Regions from separate parts of the Homo sapiens genome. Here region 1 is linked to region 2. The links are contacts of gene promoters, found by promoter capture Hi-C in blood cells and fetal thymus (Javierre and others, 2016). All regions are on one chromosome and are shown on one strand. The core of a region is centred on a gene start or on the middle of the fragment in contact, and the rest is flanking DNA. Distances in the headings are between cores, read along the strand shown. Region 1 overlaps GSG1 (germ cell associated 1). Region 2 holds the start of EMP1 (epithelial membrane protein 1).

Region 1 (6,052 bases), core at 2,666-5,165, 110 kb after region 2:
GCACTGCTCCATCCCCAGTCCTGGAAACAATTTAGAGCCCTTCGGTCCAGTGGTACAGCGGCAGCAAAAGGTATTAGTTAACACTAAGATCATTAACTCTTCTGGACACGGGAAATGGGAACACTAAGCTATGTAGGTGCTCTCATGGAAACATCTTCTGCATTATCAGAGACTGAAGAGAGAAATTCACCTGGGCTGACTCTTGGCTGTGCCATTCATTCACCCAGGCATTCTTTCCTGCTTTCCTGCTCTATGCGGGGCAGGTGCTGTCAGAGCAGAGGGAGCAGTACCAGTTATGGGGTGGGGAAGGTTTTCATTCCAACCATCCCAGGGAGTAGCTCCATGACGTTGTACCTTGTATGTTTCAGGGGAGAGGTGCCGAAGTTTCATTGAACTTACACCACCAGCCAAGAGAGGTGAGAAAGGACTACTGGAATTTGCCACGTTGCAAGGCCCATGTCACCCCACTCTCCGATTTGGAGGGAAGCGGTTGATGGAGAAGGCTTCCCTCCCCTCCCCTCCCTTGGGGCTTTGTGGCAAGTATGTGTCTGATAAGGAATTTACAGTAGTTACCATTGACTTGGGCCTCTCCGGATCTAAACTGCACTGTGATCTCCCACTTTTCTCTTCTGAGCCCCAAAGGGTGACACAAATTCCTCCTTGAGCTGACTTTCATTCATATGCAGGAATGCAAAAACAGAACAGCAGGGATAAATAAGATTCACAAATAGAAAACCACCAACAGTGCTAACCTACTCTTGTTGCCAAGTAACCATGTAGGAAGGCTTAGCTTTTTCCTCCTTTTTCTCCACTATTATTATTATTATTTGGTAAAATGAAAGGAAAAGAGTGAAGAAGGGAGGCAGGGAGGGAACCACCCCAAAATTAAATGAGGAAAAAGACAAAAAATGATAACTAGAGCAACATTATTTCCCTGCAGGATTTATGAAAATTCGATGATTTCTTCTCAAATCTCCCCAACAGTATTTACAGTCAGTCAAGCTTACTTGGGTATATATTGGTTATGGAGTGGGAGCTGTGAGTGACGTCAAAGGACTAGAAATGAAGTAATGTTCCTCCCTGGTTTCAGCTGTGCCTCATTCTCCCCTTCTCAGATGCTGCTAGGGTCTTAACTCCTAATAGGCATCCTATGCTCACCGCTTATTCAGTTTTTTAACTGTCAGGGTGAGCGCTCCCTCTTCCTCTGGTTTCTGGCAGAAATCCTATGGTTATCCCTGGGAACGCAGATCACCTACATCGGACTTCAATTCATCAGCTTCCTCCTGCTACTAACAGACTTGCTACTCACTGGGAACCCTGCCTGTGGGCTCAAACTGAGCGCCTTTGCTGCTGTTTCCTCTGTCCTGTCAGGTGAGTTGCTCCTGGAGTGAGAGAGGGTGGTTGGCCCTGGCCACTTTTGAAGCCCTAGCTGGAGGGCTTGAGTCTTTGCCCTGAAGGGGAGGAGCCCAAAGGCTCTTTAAAGAATGGAGGTAGGCATCTTTAATTTTAAATTGAAGTAACATACAAAATTGTATATTGGATCACCGTGTACTTTACAAAATGATTTACCTCTAGGTTCCTTTATTTGCAAGCTTTCTCAATATGTAAAATCTATTGTTTGGGTTACTTTTCAGTTGTGACATACACACAGCTTTTCAAGACCAGTCTCCATTGGATAAAGTGAAAGATGCACATATAAGATGAAGAATTAAGCCAACATTGGGGTGTGGGTGGGAAGGAGTAGGGGTGGTGTGCAGTGGCCTTGGGTGCAGCCTTGACTCAGACTTTTTCCATAGCTCTCAGCCTACAGTCTGGGGTCACCTATTGCAAAGATGTGTATTTAAGGAGAAGCCCCCATTGTGAATTAGTCTTCGGGAAATGTGGTGGCATAGGGTAATGGGCTACTCCAACAGAGGCTGCGCCTGACTGCAAGAAGGGTGATCCAAAATCGTACTCCTGGCAGATGGCATGAAAGCCTTTCTCTAAGGGCTCTGCCTTCCTGTTTCCTTGGTAGGTCTCCTGGGGATGGTGGCCCACATGATGTATTCACAAGTCTTCCAAGCGACTGTCAACTTGGGTCCAGAAGACTGGAGACCACATGTTTGGAATTATGGCTGGGCCTTCTAGTAAGTGCTGTCATCTCCTGAACCTTTGTAGCCCCAGCCAACCTTCACGAGATTTTCTGCCCTCAGCTAGATGCTTATTCGGTGAAGCCCTGCCTTCTCTTCATCCCTCATCCCAAGAGCCTGTCAACCACACAGGGCTGCATCATCAGGGCACATCCATTCTTCCCTGCCTTCTGAGGGGGTACAGGAAGGATTCCTCGAGTGTGTCTTGGGAGGATGTTATTTTGTCCAGTTTTCCTGCTCATCAGCTGTGGCAGTTGCCTCTTTACCTGGTATATTTGTCACCCTGGGGAAACAAGACTGATTCTGTAGGCCTTATAGAAATGTGCTCTTTTTTTTTCTTTTTTTTATGATTCAAGGTATTAGAGAACAGAGAAATAGAGAAATCGCTTTGAAATTTGGATTGAATTGCATTCTCTGTAAATGGCTTACTCCTCTCCTCTTCACTTCCTTCTATATCCATTTTTATTCTACTGAACCGTGTTGGAAATAAAACTTCACTACCCTAGGGTCATTCTCTAACCCTTAAAGAACTAAGGGGTCAGTCATTTTAGAGTTCTCTTAAAAAGAGAGCGACAGCAACCATCACAAAGCAACACATTCAAGTTAAATATTATCTTTGAGAGCTCTTACTTTCTCCCTTAAGGAGCACTCTTTATTCACAGCAAGTTGCCAACTTGTACTGATATTTACTGTCTAAGTGCTAAGTACTTTGAGAGCACTGAAAAGACACAGTGATGGGCTCAAGTTTCCATTCGGGGAAGGAAGCCTGCAAGTCTGTTGTGAGGCCCTATCCCCTTTCCTGTGGTACAATCTGCGCTAATAATTTGGGAGTCTGAGTCTACTACACCAGCCAGGGCATCAGCTCAATGCAGCTCCCAGATCCAGCACTTCTCACCTTTTGTCTGTCTTCAGGCCATTCTTGGCATTAACGGCTGTGGAGCTCAGGCTAGGCAACGCCCATTAGTCAACTCCCAGAAGCATCCCAGACTGAACCTACTGCATTTGTCAGAGGCAGCAGATATGAACACACAGTGCCCGCATGTGACCTGGCTTTAACCATCACTTGGCCTCATGAAATCCCTCCCTAACCTCACAAAACTTCCTGTTTCCTGAGCTTCCCAGAACCACAGGGAGATTTAGGGATTTGACTTTCCAAGTTTTCAGGAATGTGTTTAATATGGTTGCCTAATGTCTTCTTTTCCTTTCTTGAATCCATCCACATTCTCTTAATCTCCAGCTCCTCTCCCACCCATTACAAACTCCCTTAAGCCAAAACCACACTGTTTCCATATGAAGCAAATTCCACTAGTACAACCTATAATACCTCCTGATTTGTAGTAAATGTTTTCCTGAATGACTTTCAGAGGCTCACCTTTTTGGACCCTAAGACTGCTAAGTTCAAAACAAAGGAAGATGGAAGAGGGATGATTCCTCCCAGCATCTGAGTGGGGGGACATCTTTGGCAGGGCATGTGTGTGTGTGTTGGGGTGGGAGAGGGAGGGTATGCAGTAGGTTATGTCCACTGCATACAGCTCAGCTTCAGGCCTGGGGAATCTTGGAGATTTTACAAGGGTCAATGCAGCTTGGGAAACAGGAGTCCAAATATGCACAGACATACACACACAATAGGCACACCAGATAGAAAAGGGCATGGCACCGACAACTCATCAATTCAGTGAAAACAAATCCATTAAGCTCCTTGTCTGATACTAGGACTACATGAGTCATTCTCTTTTTAGAAACCAGTAAGTTCTCTTCCCACAGTTCTTTACCTGAAACATGGTGGAAAGTCCCTAAATCCCTACAAGGCAATAAGCTAGTCCACTAGTAGGAAGAGGTCATGGCATTTTTCTCTCAAGAAAGTCCTATTCTTACTGTCCAATCTTTTTGTGCATTTGTCCCTAGCATGGCCTGGCTCTCCTTCACCTGCTGCATGGCGTCGGCTGTCACCACCTTCAACACGTACACCAGGATGGTGCTGGAGTTCAAGTGCAAGCATAGTAAGAGCTTCAAGGAAAACCCGAACTGCCTACCACATCACCATCAGTGTTTCCCTCGGCGGCTGTCAAGTGCAGCCCCCACCGTGGGTCCTTTGACCAGCTACCACCAGTATCATAATCAGCCCATCCACTCTGTCTCTGAGGGAGTCGACTTCTACTCCGAGCTGCGGAACAAGGGATTTCAAAGAGGGGCCAGCCAGGAGCTGAAAGAAGCAGTTAGGTCATCTGTAGAGGAAGAGCAGTGTTAGGAGTTAAGCGGGTTTGGGGAGTAGGCTTGAGCCCTACCTTACACGTCTGCTGATTATCAACATGTGCTTAAGCCAACATCCGTCTCTTGAGCATGGTTTTTAGAGGCTACGAATAAGGCTATGAATAAGGGTTATCTTTAAGTCCTAAGGGATTCCTGGGTGCCACTGCTCTCTTTTCCTCTACAGCTCCATCTTGTTTCACCCACCCCACATCTCACACATCCAGAATTCCCTTCTTTACTGATAGTTTCTGTGCCAGGTTCTGGGCTAAACCATGGAGATAAAAAGAAGAGTAAAATACACTTCCCGACCTTAAGGATCTGATACATCTAGTTATTGGTCTGGAAATTGGAGAAATGGAGGTGAGCAAATTAACGGTAGTGTGACTGTGGCTCAACTTTCCATGGTACGCGCGAATTGTTCTGGAAGTCACAGATGGGAAGACAGAAGCGCCCCTGAGTGCTTTGTCATATAGCACAGAAGTCCTCCACACTGCCTGGGACAGTGTCCTGCATCCACACAGTAGGTACCCAGTAAAAGTGTTATTAAATATTGTCCCAGGAGCCCTTAGGAGAGTGGTTTAACATGAGAAGGCGCCAACAGCACACAGGGTCAGGGTCACTTCTAGAAATAGCCCACCAAGGCTATTCAGATTGGACTGTGGTTCCCTTCTGGACAGTCACACCAGGGACTTCCCAGTGAACAAGGGGGCATAGGCTCCTCTCTGGATCCCACCTTTTCATCCCTTCTGAGAAATGTACCCTATTATTTCCTTCATAAAGAATGCCACCCATCTGATTCCTCAAGAATCTAGACCTAGAAATACCATTTGACCCAGCCATCCCATTACTGGGTAGATACCCAAAGGATTACAAATCATGCTGCTATAAAGACACATGCACACATATGTTTATTACGGCACTATTTATAATAGCAAAGACTTGGAACCAACCCAAATGTCCATCAGTGATAGACTGGATTAAGAAAATGTGGCACATATACACCATGGAATACTATGCAGCCATAAAGAAGGATGAGTTTATGCCCTTTGTAGGGACATGGATGAAGCTGGAAACCATCATTCTGAGCAAACTATCGCAAGGATAGAAAACCAAACACTGCATATTCTCACTCACAGGTGGGAATTGAACAATAAAAACACTTGGACACAGGGTGGGGAACATCACACACCGGGCCTGTCATGGGGTGGGGGGAGGGGGGAGGGATAGCATTAGGAGATATACTAACGTAAATGACGAGTTAATGGGTGCAGCACACCAACATGGCACATGTATACATATGTAACAAATCTGCACGTTGTGCACATGTACCCTAGAACTTAAAAAAAAAAAAAAAAGAATGCCACCCATCTACTTGCCCGTTCTCTTTTCCATATGGGGAAACAAACCATCCTTGATGACTAAGACGAATGAGAATGGCACACAAGTGTATTCCTGTAGAGTATTTATTTATTTACTCTATAACAGTTCACATTTTAAATAGTGCTTCCTGACAATATACCAGCTGGCTCTTCTTTAATAGGGCAATAAGGATAGCAATTCACATTCAGGGGATTAGTTTCACCATACCACACATTTGGGGGATGGCAAAAACGGGGTCTAAGGAAAAGGGAGGGTGTTTAAGGGAAAGAGGAGGGTAAGACCCTTGCATTTGT
Region 2 (5,972 bases), core at 3,243-5,742:
CCAGACTGGTCTCAAACTCCTAGGTTCAAGTGATCCTCCCACCTCAGTCTCCCAAGTAGCTGGGATTACCACGCCTGGGTGAATCTTAGAATCTCAGAGCCATAAGGGGTCTGAAAGAACCACCAAGTTCAACTTCCGAAAGCAAGAAGACAAGTGTCTCGCCTGTGGTTACATGGCAGCGTCAAGATAACACCACTGCCCCTCTGTCTTCCTAGTCAGCTGTCTTACATCTGCTCCAGGATTCTTGCCACGCTTTCAACCTGTGCTGAAAGGGCTCTCTAGTTTAACTACCCGGTTTGAAGAAACAATTCATGAAACAGGCTCAGCAAATAGAAAAACTGTCACAGCCACGTAAGTCCAAGCGCACCAACAGCAGAGGATTCCATTGCAGTTCCAGGGAAATGCCATCTCCACAACACAAAAGAAAACCTTGACCCAAACATTTTGTTAAAAAGGAAGAGAGAAGCAGCAATCACCACAGGTGTTTGTGCTTTCATCTTTCTGCTTTAGTATCAGTGAATCTCCCAGGTAAATTGAAGGAAATGGTTTTACCCAGGCAGGACACCAGGGACTGAATTGTTGCAAAGAGCAGTCTCAGGACGTGTGTATGTCGGGGCTGGGTGCTGAAGATTCAAGTAAACCCCTAACTGGAACCATATTTGGGCTTCCTTGATTACTGAATAGCAAGTGCAGTCCAGAAATTCAAGATCACCTGGGCGGATCTGGGAAGAGTATTAGAAAAGGGAAGCTTATGGTGAGAAAATTCCCGTTCTACGCTGGTTAAGGGTTAGGAGCTCTTCTCAAGGGGCTGATACCCAGATTGCTGGCCAGCAATTACAAGGAGGCTACATTTGATGGGCAGCCTGTTCCCGTAATTACTATGATGGGTGGTGACAATGTATAGGTGTGGGCTACATGAACTATGGACCAAATTATGGGACAATCCCCAAAAGGCCTAGCTAGAAGCCTGTGTCCTGGTATTGGATTGATCTAACCATGACCTAGTAGGTAGCAACACTGGGTGTGTCCCTCCGAGTATGTACATCTGAGAGTCCCAAATAGGCCTGAGCTTTTGTGTTAGGCAGCTATGTACATACATGTGGGAGGTTAAAGAAGGAACCATATTCATGCATTTAGAAAATTAAATACCTCCAAATCAAAAACCCCGTGAGTATGATTGACTATGTACATAATTCCAAACTTCAAAAATGCTCCCTGCCCTTCTGAGCCTTAGGCAAAAAAAAAAAAAAAAAGAAGAAGAAGAAGAAGAAGAAAAGATAATGCAATGTAGATCCATCAAGTTGTATTCATTAAATATTAAATAGGCGTTAAGTGTTTAGAGGATGAGAATCATTGGGTGGAGCAACAACAAAACCAGAATAGATATTTTCTGAGTTGTTTCAGGCCAGCAGAATCAGGAAGTTATAAGGAAGTTGATTTTGCTTGATTTAAGGAACTTTAATAAAATTAGAGTTGGCCTGCTAAGGGGAATGAGTGTGGAGGTACACACTGAGGTTCTGAGCTCCCCGCATCTGGAAATTTTAAGATCTGTAGGATGGCCATCTGTTCAAGATGGTGTAAAAATTAGATTTCTGCATACAGTAGGAGAATGAATGAGATCCAAGATCCCTCCCAAATTTAGAATTCTGTGAACGAAATGAAGGATGAAATGGAACTGACTTGCCTCCTGCCCTTTCCTGTGTCCACGTTTCAGTTATGTGCCCCACCAGGCTCCATAGAGTCTACAGAAAAGCAGTCTTGCCTCATCCACAAGTTTTCCCCGGTCTTCAACGTGTCTCTCTCCAGTAGTCCCTGTGGGTCTGGCACTACCTGAAATCCCTAGAGCCACCCAGAGCAAGCCAAGAGGGTCTACATTCCCGGGTGAGGGGTCTCCATGAAGCCCACTGACAAGGCTGGGAACTTGATGGGCCTAATCTGGTCTCTGGAGGAAGCAGGAAGGGCTGAGGAAGGCACAGTGAGTCCTTTCCACTCTCCACAGAAGGGATCTCTTTCCTTTCCCCAGCGGTCTGCCCAGCAGTCCTGGGAGATAGCCAGATTCTAAGGATGTGATTTGCTCCAAGTTGGTTCTTGATGGCCTTTTGCCAACTCCCAAGACAGTTTAGTACCCACAAACAATGTAAATGTGGGGGGCCCTCTGACCAGGGCGCCAGACAGGATGTCCTGCAGCCCCCGCCCCCGCCCCATTCTTCGGAGTCTGGGTGGAATTGGATCTGCCCCTGAGGGTGGGAGGCAGCGGGCAGAGTGGGGGGGAAAAATAACCCTCACATTTCGGGATTGTCAAAGCTGAAATCCAGAAAAACTCTCACAGCTAAGGGACTCTTTCACTACTTCTTGGAGGAAGAGCAGAGAGCAGGAATCAGAACGGTATTTTTCTAAATTGTCTTCAAACTCCAGGAAGTAACATGTAGCATATTTTCTCCTTTATAAACCTACAGTATCATGTGAAACCTTGCCACAAATAATGCAGTTCATGATGGTTTACACTCCCAACATTGTCAGGGCTTTCCGTGTGTTGACTGGTTATTAGTTTTAACCTGCACAGAACTAAAAGATTTGTATAATTTTCACAGGATATTAACACTATTGATTTAATAATGGCTAATCCACATCCATGTAATGTGGAAATAATAAACATGTGAAGCAAATGTAGGAGTTCCCTTCATCTTGAAAAGTTGCCCTGATGCCTACTCAATCGTCCCCCTTGGGGCAGTTTTACAAGGAGCATTGCCTGCTCAACACAGGGTTGATTACATGTAACTTCTCTCCCAACGTACTGCCTTTCTAAAGGAAAAGCCTAACTTTGTCAGACAAGCTGAATCCTGTCATTCTCATCTTGTTTACTTGGGGAAAAAATATACCAGTGTCTATGTTGAAATGGGCCACACCTCGGTAGACACTCACCCAAAATGCTAACCGAAAAAAAGAAAAAAAGAAAAAAAAGAAAAAGCACCCTTCTTCATTCCTCCAGATTTCATGATTAGCATGAGTGTTTGCATTTATACAATCACATTTCGGGAACAAGAGAAAAGATAAGCATTTCAAAACAATCACTGCCTTCCATGCAAAGAAATTCCACATCCACTTTCTTTTAAAAGTTCTTTTATCGTTTCTGGTATGCCATCTTTTCACTCAGCACTGAAAGGCAGCTCTTTCTGGGGTGAAAGCACAAAGCCACTCAACAATTTTTAACAGGCACAGATGAAGTTCTCCTGCCCCACCCTCTTCTCCAAACCCAGCTTCCCTTTTGCCTCCCCCGCCCTCCACATCTGGCCAAGAGAAGGCATCTGGAATCCTCATCAGCTCCTGCTTCGACCAAGTGAACCCCTCCCACGTTTCATTTAAAACACCATTTGCCTCCCTCTCTTTCTCTCTCTAACAGTTTTCTTTTTTCATTTTTTTTCTTTTTCTTTTTTTTCCTTTTTGAGACAGAGTCTCACTCAGCTGCCCAGGCTGGAGTGTAGTGGCGCAATCTCAGTTCACTGCAACCACCATCTCCCGGATTCAAGCAATTCTCCCGTCTCAGCCTACCAAGTAGCTAGAATTACAGGCACCTGCCATCATGCCTGGCTACTTTTTGTATTTTAGTAGAGACAGGGTTTCACCATGTTGGCCAGGCTTGTCTTGAACTCCTGACCTCAGGTGATCCGCCCGCCTCAGCCTCCCAAAGTGCTAGGATTACAGGCATGAGCCACCGTGCCCGGCCAACAGTTTTCTTTAAACAAACCAATCCCCCTCTTCCCATCCTGTGAGGAGAAAAAAAATACTTAAATTTAAACAGAAGTGAATAGGGAAGCAAACAGGCAGGAAAAGCAATGTCAAAAATAAACTGAAAACCAGTTATCTATCCACCACCACCCAAAAAATCCCAACCAACAACCAGCGAGCAGAGTAACAGTTCAAGTCCTGAAGCAATCGGAATCAAAACGGAGGAGGTGAAAAACATCTGGCCAGTTCCCGATGTCATTTCCAAGGTGTGTGGTGTTTCCTCCATAAACAGGATCCTATCCCAGTTTGTTTCAAAGTCCCTGCTCCCTCCACATCCTAGAACAAGAACCCGGTCACTGCCAGGCACGATTTTAGCCCCATCCCATTGATTTCCCCAGACTCCGTCCTCAAAATACACTTTTCTGAACTTTCTAGAAAAAGTTGTCTCTGTATCCACTTTGAGCCAAAAGTTTCAAGGACTTGGTTCTTAGAGGATCATAGAAAAATAGCGAAGGAAGAAAAGAAAAAGCAAAACTAAGATGAGGTCAGAAGAAGCAGAGCCGTGGAAAGGAAGGAGAAGTTTTGCTGAGAGTCCCCACAGCGTTGGGAGCTGTCCTACCTGAAGGGTCCCAGCGACAGAGGCGCTCTGAGTGGCAGGTGCTGGCAGCAGCCCTGGTCCGCTCTTCTGGAAGTATGTGACCGCACTGAGGGGAAGGACCTGCCTCCCGAGGTTATAAGTTTCCTCTGCTGGTGTACTGGGGTGTGTAATGGGCGGTTTCTTTTCACCGTGTTTTAAAGGAGTTTCTATGAATCAGTCTGGCTTTAAAAAAAAAAAAAAGATTTGTTGGTAAGCTACGCCCTGCTAAGCTGGCAGTCAGTCAAGAGTGGCTGGGAGTGAGCCATCAATTCAAAGAACCCTGTTGTAGGCTCTCTCTGACTCAGACACACAGACCACAGTGGAAAAAAGGAGGGACATTGCTTCAAATGAGTAACAGGATCACACAAATAGATCTGTTTACTGAAGCCCATTCCTCCTCACCAAAAAGGAGACTTGGTTACCATGGACATAAGGCAAAACACAAGGTTTCAGCCTGGGAGGGGGAGGAAAGGGGCCAGTGTCCTGCTGACTGAAGTCCTAGGTCATCATCAAGCGAGATTCCCAGTCTTCCTCCCCCATTAAAAGCATCAGCTGCTGCTCACTGTCAGGAATTATCAGATTCCTTTTTTTATTTACTTCCCTGCCTGACCCTGGTGCACTGTCCTGTGGGTGGCTGTACAGGGAGGCCCTGAAGGCGAAGGGGACACACTAGGAGCTCTTGCAGCCCTGCCTCTGAGTGATGGAGCACTGATTGAACAGCAGAGAATTCCTGGTCTTTCATTATGCTCTGCTAGTGCCCGTGTGGACTCTCCACATTCCAGGAGGAAGTCCTCTAGTTAAGAACTTTGCTCTCTGTAATAATCAGCTGGACCTTGTTCTACAATTGACTTTCTTGAACTTGGCCAGTAGCATAATCATCCCTACTACCTCCCTGCACCACTCCTCTCTCTCTCTCAACTCTGGAGCTGGGAGAGGCCTGTGAAGTCATCTCATCCCACAGCCCAGGCATTCCACTGGAGAGAGTAAAAGCCCAGATGCCTGAGTTCAAGCCCAGCTCTCCACAAATTTGCTGTGTGACTTTAGGCAAACCACTTAACTTCTCCATGCCTATTTTCTCATGCATAAAATGGAGATGGCAGGTATGTAACTCATAGAGCTATGATGAGAAATACACATATAGGGGCTCATGGCAGTGTGCATAGTGAGCGCTCAACAAATCTTAGCTACAAGGATTATTTTACTGAAGAAGCAGCTCAGGCCCAGAGAGGTGAAGTGACTTATTCAAGGAGATACAGTACGTTACCAGTAGCAGCTTGGATCTAGGTCAGCACATCCAAGCAATTCTATTTCTGTTATTCTCTGCTGCACCCTGACAACTTATTTCAATTCAAAATATGCGTGTGTAGTATTTATTCATTCATTCTGCCAATACAGGCTGCACGTCAGTCTTCACTGGGCCTGATTCAGAGCACTGAGTCACAGAAGTGAATGACATCCCTGCCTCTTGGAACTTATATTCCCTAAAAAGATAGAAAACAGACTGGTGGCTATTCACCAAAATGTTGATCAAATTCGATGATAAAATTATGGATGCAGTTTAGTTTGTTCTGGTCACAATTCTGTATTTTCCAAATCCTCTGCAATGAAC

Evidence for each region. The method cuts DNA at HindIII sites, captures the fragments that hold promoters and counts their contacts. A CHiCAGO score of 5 or more calls a contact.
Region 1: a contact is called between a fragment that was not itself captured here and the fragment with the promoter of EMP1 in region 2, in 4 of 17 cell types (monocytes, M2 macrophages, naive CD4 T cells and 1 more). The highest score is 8.2, in monocytes.

Annotation. Positions count from the first base shown.
Region 1 is chr12:13,083,226-13,089,277 of GRCh38, reverse strand. It overlaps GSG1 (germ cell associated 1), which reads left to right. Exons shown (of 7, transcript NM_001080555.4): 3 at 2-70; 4 at 369-416; 5 at 1,219-1,371; 6 at 2,015-2,126; 7 at 4,035-5,746. The coding sequence ends at 4,377. It overlaps FAM234B (family with sequence similarity 234 member B), which reads right to left. Exons shown (of 13, transcript NM_020853.2): 13 at 5,829-6,052. Among named protein-coding and RNA genes, the nearest start is that of GSG1, 17 kb to the left of the region's middle. RefSeq lists enhancers at 1-17, 18-840, 841-1,662, 1,663-2,485, 3,475-4,674. The HindIII fragment of the contact is 4,641 bases long and covers 1,595-6,052 here.
Region 2 is chr12:13,195,246-13,201,217 of GRCh38, reverse strand. EMP1 (epithelial membrane protein 1) reads right to left here and starts at 4,492. Exons shown (of 5, transcript NM_001423.3): 1 at 4,346-4,492. RefSeq lists an enhancer at 1,952-2,452. The HindIII fragment of the contact is 10,564 bases long and covers 751-5,972 here.